Linked DNA regions of Homo sapiens: region 1 is linked to region 2. Evidence: promoter capture Hi-C in 16 types of primary human blood cells and fetal thymus (Javierre and others, 2016). All regions are on one chromosome and are shown on one strand. The core of a region is centred on a gene start or on the middle of the fragment in contact, and the rest is flanking DNA. Distances in the headings are between cores, read along the strand shown. Region 1 overlaps MAX (MYC associated factor X). Region 2 holds the start of RDH11 (retinol dehydrogenase 11).

Region 1 (3,031 bases), core at 376-2,875, 2.6 Mb after region 2:
GGAAAAAAGAATACACACAGAATAAATCAGAATCAGCGAGGGGAAGAGAAATAAGTATATCAGAGTGTCTAATATTTGATAGTTGGGAGCAGTAAGAAATGTATAGAATGGGGGTAAAAAGTTCAAATGCCCATGAGGGCCATAAAGAATAAAGAAGGAAGAGGTGAGGGCTTGGGTACTGGAGAGCAGTGCCTCTTCTAAAAAGTCAGCACTACTGAACTCCAGTGGTTTGTTAGTAGGAGTGAAGGGTCAGTATTGCCAGATCTTCCTATTTTTAATTTTATTTTATTTATTTATTTTTGAGACAGAGTCTCACTCTGTCACCAGGCTGGAGTGCAATGGCGCTATCTCGGCTTACTGCAACCTCCGCCTCCTGGGTTCAAGCGATTCTCTTGCCTCAGCCTCCCGAATAGCTGGGACTACAGGCGCGTGCCACCACACCCAGCTAATTTTTGTATTTTTAGTAGAGACGGGGTTTCACCATGTTGGCCAGGCTGGTCTCGATCTCTTAACCTCGTGATCTGCCAGCCTCGGCCTCCCAAAGTGCTGGGATTACAGGCATGAGCCACCACGCCCAGCCGATCTTCCTATTTTTTAAGAAAGATTAGAAATCTAAAACTTTATGTTATTTTTCTGATTTTTAAAATGATGTGTGGAACAACTGTTTGGGGGCTTGTTAGAATTTGCAGGATGTCACTTTGATACCTCTGGTATAAGAACTTGATAACCACAGGGTAAAGGCAAGCCATCTCAGTTATACCTGCTCTTCATTAGAGCAAGCAAAGATTGTGCAGGTTGTCTAAGCAGATAGGCATTAAGAAAACTTATTTATTGAGAGCTGATATTTCCATAAAATCCGGGGATGTAGTTGTTCCAAAAGTCTTAAAAATTATCCCTGGGTAATAGTCATTAAAGATAATTTGTTTTATTTTATTTATCCTTGAAGTATTCTCATATACTTATGCATATATTTGAAAATTGAATTCCTTTTTCACATTTACTTTTATCCTTCATGTTTGGGGCCTAGTCTGTTGAAAACTTTTTTTTTCCCTGCAAGTCTCCAGTTGTAAAATCTGTGCTAGGGCTTGATCAGAGCTGGAGGGTAAGGATCGTTTAGCCTTCCTTTGCAGAATTATCCTTTGAATTGAAATTATACTGACTTCCCAGTAAGAGAAAGTTGTGTTTTTTTTGTTTGTTTGTTTGTTTGTTTGTTTTTTTGGTGAAATTTTGGCTCGCAGTTCTTGAAAGCTTTCTGCTTTTCAAAATTTTCATCCATATGATCGTTGATATAAATTTGTTATTAAATTATTATAATGTTTCTGCTTTCCTGGAATGCTAATCTCATTGTTTTGTCTAGATGTTTTTAGTTTGCTGTTAAGGTGCCTAGGATTTTTCCTTTTGATTTTGGGGGTAGGCAAAGGAAGTTGGTTTGACACTTTGTTTTTAATTTAACACATCTATTTGTTGATATTTCTAAATATTACTCTGCACAATGTAATTACAACAGCATGGAGAGAAAAAGCAGATATGTTATAAACAAATTTTATAGTATATCAAACAACTATTGTGACTGTGTAGGGTAAAAAGGATTCCATTTTTTCCCCTCTGTGAATGCATCTGCTTACTTCTCAATATTTAATATGGATAATAAATATATTTTTTAAAATTTAAGAGGGAGCTATTCTTAAGTTTTGCCTTAGAAAAAAGGTTTAAAAAAAGATGTGGACTGTGAACAACCAAATACTTAGGTATTCAGGACTACAGAAGATGTTGAAAAAGTTATTTGAAAAGGGTTCTGTGGATCCTAATATAAAAACATTCATGTATGTTTTATAATGTCACTACAATATATAGGCCTTACTACATGAGAAATGTAAGATACTGAGAAGAGAGTTAGGAAGTTAGGCTAACTCTAACAGAAAGTGAAACTGATTTGGCAAATATTTTTTTCTATTGCTTCAGTACAAACGGAAAACAGCTTCTCCAATGGCCAGTAAGCTTTGTTAAAGGAAGTAACCCCAAAGAGTATTCTTACTACTAAATTCAGTACATCGCAAAATCCCACTGATGTTATTTTTATTATATTTTGGAGGGAAGAGGTTGCATTTTAAAGATAAATTTGTGGGACAGGTATATTATATTGCAAGGGCTTCCTTTTGCTTTATTTCTGTTTGGGAAATTTCTTTAGGAAAGAGTGTAAGTATACAGGAAATGTATGGGTTAGTGTGTTGGTCAGGAAATGCAATTTTTTTTCCAGTGACCATCCTTGATGGCACCTGACTGAGTTGCAGTTGCAGTATACTTGTGAGGGGTTTGAAAACAGATTTGTGCAATTCCACTTCTGGACCTTTCTGGCATGAAATATTTTTAACTTCTCAGAGCTCTTTGCTTCTTTAGGAATATTCAGAAGAGAACGAGCTTGGTAGCCTCCGAGATTGGAATTCACTCAGGAAACTACTGTCTGTTTTACCTGCAGTCAGTTGCATGGCAAAAGTGCTGCACAATGCATGTACTTTTTCTCTGCTTAGAGTGTTGACAGTGATGCTTACAGTGATAACAAATGCCAGAGTTAGTTCCTAAATGTGCCTGTGTTAGGGTAAAAGTTGTTCTTATGTCTAAAAGAATTTTTCCAAGATGCCAGTAACGGTGAAATAGTTGGTCAAAGAATTCAGCTTGGTTTTTAATTAAAATTTCCTGACCAAGGCATCCTTCTCTGAAATGGCTATAGTATGAGGCCCTGTTTGGATTATAGCATTTGCCAGTTATTTTAGGCACCAAAAGAAAAAAGTTTGAAAACAAATACATACATTAGATAATGTTGGAAATGTATACCAGGCAATCAGCTACAAGCAGGACAGGTATTGGAAAATTGAAATCCATGTCTTTCTCTTAGGGAGCTTGGTGAGTTTATCCCATCCTACCTGCCTATTATTTTATGTTATAATTTTTGGGTTGATTAAAATGAATATTTTAAGTTGCTTAGAAATTGAGCTTTATCCTATCTTGTTCTTATCTATCAGAAGTAAGAAAT
Region 2 (2,972 bases), core at 142-2,641:
TATGTGTTCCTGGCTTCCTGCTGGACATCAGCACAGTGCCTAGTACACTATAGGAATGCCATAAATGTTTGTCAAATGCGTGAATGACTGAATAAGGAACAAAACAAATGAAAGGCTTTTATAAAGTTATAAAACCCAATACAAATATTAGGTAACACAATAATGAGAATGTGACAAAATGTGATGATTGCTAGGTAATCTAATGTTAAATTGGTAGGAATTAGTATTGTGTGAAGGAAACCCTCTCTTCTCCAATTTGCTATAAAATATATTAGTTCATTGGAACCCGTGTCTTTTAACCAAATGGAAATTATGCAAAAGGACCAGAAAATATTACTGGGTACAATTAAGGAATCACAGACAGATATTGATTGGTTAAAACACCCTCCACTTTCACCCCCAGGAAATAGGCCTCAGATGAAAGAAACTATTGAACAGGGAACCTATTTATTCACAGAGAACATATTCATGGCCTTAATTCAAGACAGGATTAAATACTTTCACGAGTTGGCAAAACCAACTGTGCCAATCTGAGATATTCATTGCTACCCTGGGAGTTAATGTATGTGACCCAAGCCATCAGGAAGACGATATTCTATTATCAATGAACACTCAAACACTAGAAAAATCATGATAGTTGCCACCATAATTCAAGATAGACACAATAAAGTGATTCTCCTGAGAATGTCTTCAAGGACTTATTGCTTCCTCTTCTCTGGAAAAAGGAATCCTCGAGGAGGAAGGGTTTACATTCCCCCACCTTCCCAACTGTCAGACTTCGGACCGCTCCTCTCCTGTCTAATCCGCCTTTCATTTCCCAGACGCCAACATCTGATCTCCAGGAGAAACAGTGCGGTAACTGCCTAACCAGGATTGGGGAAAACTGAACCAGGCACTGGACTTGGGTCTGGGGAGATAGAGGACTGCAGAGATTTCACAAACACCGCGGTGCCTAGTACACTATAGGAATAAGTGTACTATTCCTATAGTGTATACTTTTTTTTTTCCAGAAAAATCCCTCTGGGGTATGAGCACTATTTTCAGTTCTGGTTCAACTTTTCATTGAGATTCTATGTGGATAAGAGGATCTTGTAGTGAAAAAAAGATAAAAAGCAGTGTTTTCATCTGAGTGTGAGAAACCATGTGTGCCTAGAGGTGGGAGAACTGAGTATTCAGAAGGCAGAAAAAATAACTGAGAGCTGGGTGAATGATCCCACAGGCCCTAAGCCCTAGATGGTTGGGGATTAGCGATGTATAATTCAACTTCTGCCAGCGTTGGCGGCAGCGCTCCCACGTAGCCAGCCTGAGGCTGTCAAGCTCTGGACTACATTTCCCAGAAGGTCTGCTCCCCGGGCTGTCGCAATTTGAATTGGGGCGTGTCTAGAAAGAGAAGCCATAGTCGGCGAGCAACGCTGGAGCATCCCGCTCTGGTGCCGCTGCAGCCGGCAGAGATGGTTGAGCTCATGTTCCCGCTGTTGCTCCTCCTTCTGCCCTTCCTTCTGTATATGGCTGCGCCCCAAATCAGGTCTGTGCAAATGTATTGCCTTCTCTTGAGAATTCTTGTTGCGGGGCGGGAGGGAAACATAGAATCCCCACCAAAGCTTTCTTGGAAAACTCCCCTGGGGGGGCTCCAAGATGGCGGAGCCCAGAGTTCGGTGGGTTGGAGGCGAGGTCCAGCTGTCCTGGGTGCCAGGAGGACACCCGAGACCCCAGGCGGTGAGAAAGGGCGGCAGTCCGGGGCACACTGCTTTTCCCTGGCCTGTTTTTCTTTTGTCTAAGCACCCCCTGATTCTGGCTCCAGGGAATCCCGAGGGTAAGGCTACCTCAAACGCTTGAGTTTCGGACTCTTCAATGGGATATGGCCCGACGCTGTTTTCCCCTTATTCCCCACGCCTTAAACCAGCCTTCGAGGTACAAAGGAGCGATTCCACATTTCGCCCTCTGAAACTGATAGCAATCGTAACATCTGCGGCCCCATCCTTGCTCTCTCGTTGCTGTTACAATCGCTTGTTCTGTGGGCGGATGTTGTAAAGGAGAAAAGTGAAAAGGAAGAGTGTTTGGTTATGAGCTCTATCCTGCCTTGCGAGCAGGAGCACGGGGGATCTGAGTTAGGAGCTAGGGTACTGGGGCGGTGAGGGCTGGGAGAATGGTGGGAAGGTATTGACCAGGTGATAGATCAATCAGCCCAAGGCTGGCCAAGTGCCCCAGTGAATCAGCAGCGGGCTGTAAAACCGGCAGCCTGCTTATTGGTTCTAAGTAAATCACCAGTGGTGACGGACCAGTGACTGAATAGACAGACACACTCCTTCCCCAGGTGGGCGGTCTTAGTCCCAATAGAACTTGAAGCCAGGCCAGATCACAGTCATTTCTTACCACAGTCACCTACTTTCCTTCTTTTATTTTTATTTTCTCTTCCTTCTCTGGTGCCCCTCTTCCAGTTATATTTTTTCTGCCTTCTGAACACTCAGTTCTCCCACCTCTAGGCACACATGGTTTCTCACACTCAGATGAAAACACTGCTTTTTATCTTTTTTTCACTACAAGATCCTCTTATCCACATAGAATCTCAATGAAAAGTTGAACCAGAACTGAAAATAGTGCTCATACCCCAGAGGGATTTTTCTGGAAAAAAAAAAAATATATGTGTGTATATATATATATATATGTGTGTGTGTGTATATATATATATGTGTGTGTGTGTGTATATATATATATATATATATTCCAGGAGCTGTATTCCCAACTCAGCAGGGTTATGGGAGTCGGGCCAGAGCTGGACTTTTATAGTTGTCTCTTTCATTCCTGCTGGTTAAGGAGAAGAAAGAACTAAGTACAGGTCCTACTAAGTTGTCACTCCTGGAGCTACATACAGTAAGGGGATGTGGGAAACAGCCTAGAGGCTTGTTTTCTGAGGAGGGAGGTGATGGTTTGTGGGGACCATGAGTTAATCTGCCTCCCTGTCAGCATTTTCG

What was found. The method cuts DNA at HindIII sites, captures the fragments that hold promoters and counts their contacts. A CHiCAGO score of 5 or more calls a contact.
Region 1: a fragment that was not itself captured here is called in contact with the fragment with the promoter of RDH11 in region 2 in 1 of 17 cell types (fetal thymus); the score reaches 5.7 in fetal thymus.

Annotation. Positions count from the first base shown.
Region 1 is chr14:65,097,719-65,100,749 of GRCh38, reverse strand. All of the region lies in intron 2 of MAX (MYC associated factor X), which reads left to right. Among named protein-coding and RNA genes, the nearest start is that of MAX, 3.3 kb to the left of the region's middle. The HindIII fragment of the contact is 750 bases long and covers 1,251-2,000 here.
Region 2 is chr14:67,694,183-67,697,154 of GRCh38, reverse strand. It overlaps RDH11 (retinol dehydrogenase 11), which reads left to right and starts at 1,391. Exons shown (of 7, transcript NM_016026.4): 1 at 1,391-1,525. The coding sequence starts at 1,452. It also overlaps a transcript of GPHN not described here. RefSeq lists enhancers at 1,074-1,123, 1,144-1,193, 1,238-1,874 and a silencer at 2,224-2,283. The HindIII fragment of the contact is 2,925 bases long and covers 1-1,603 here.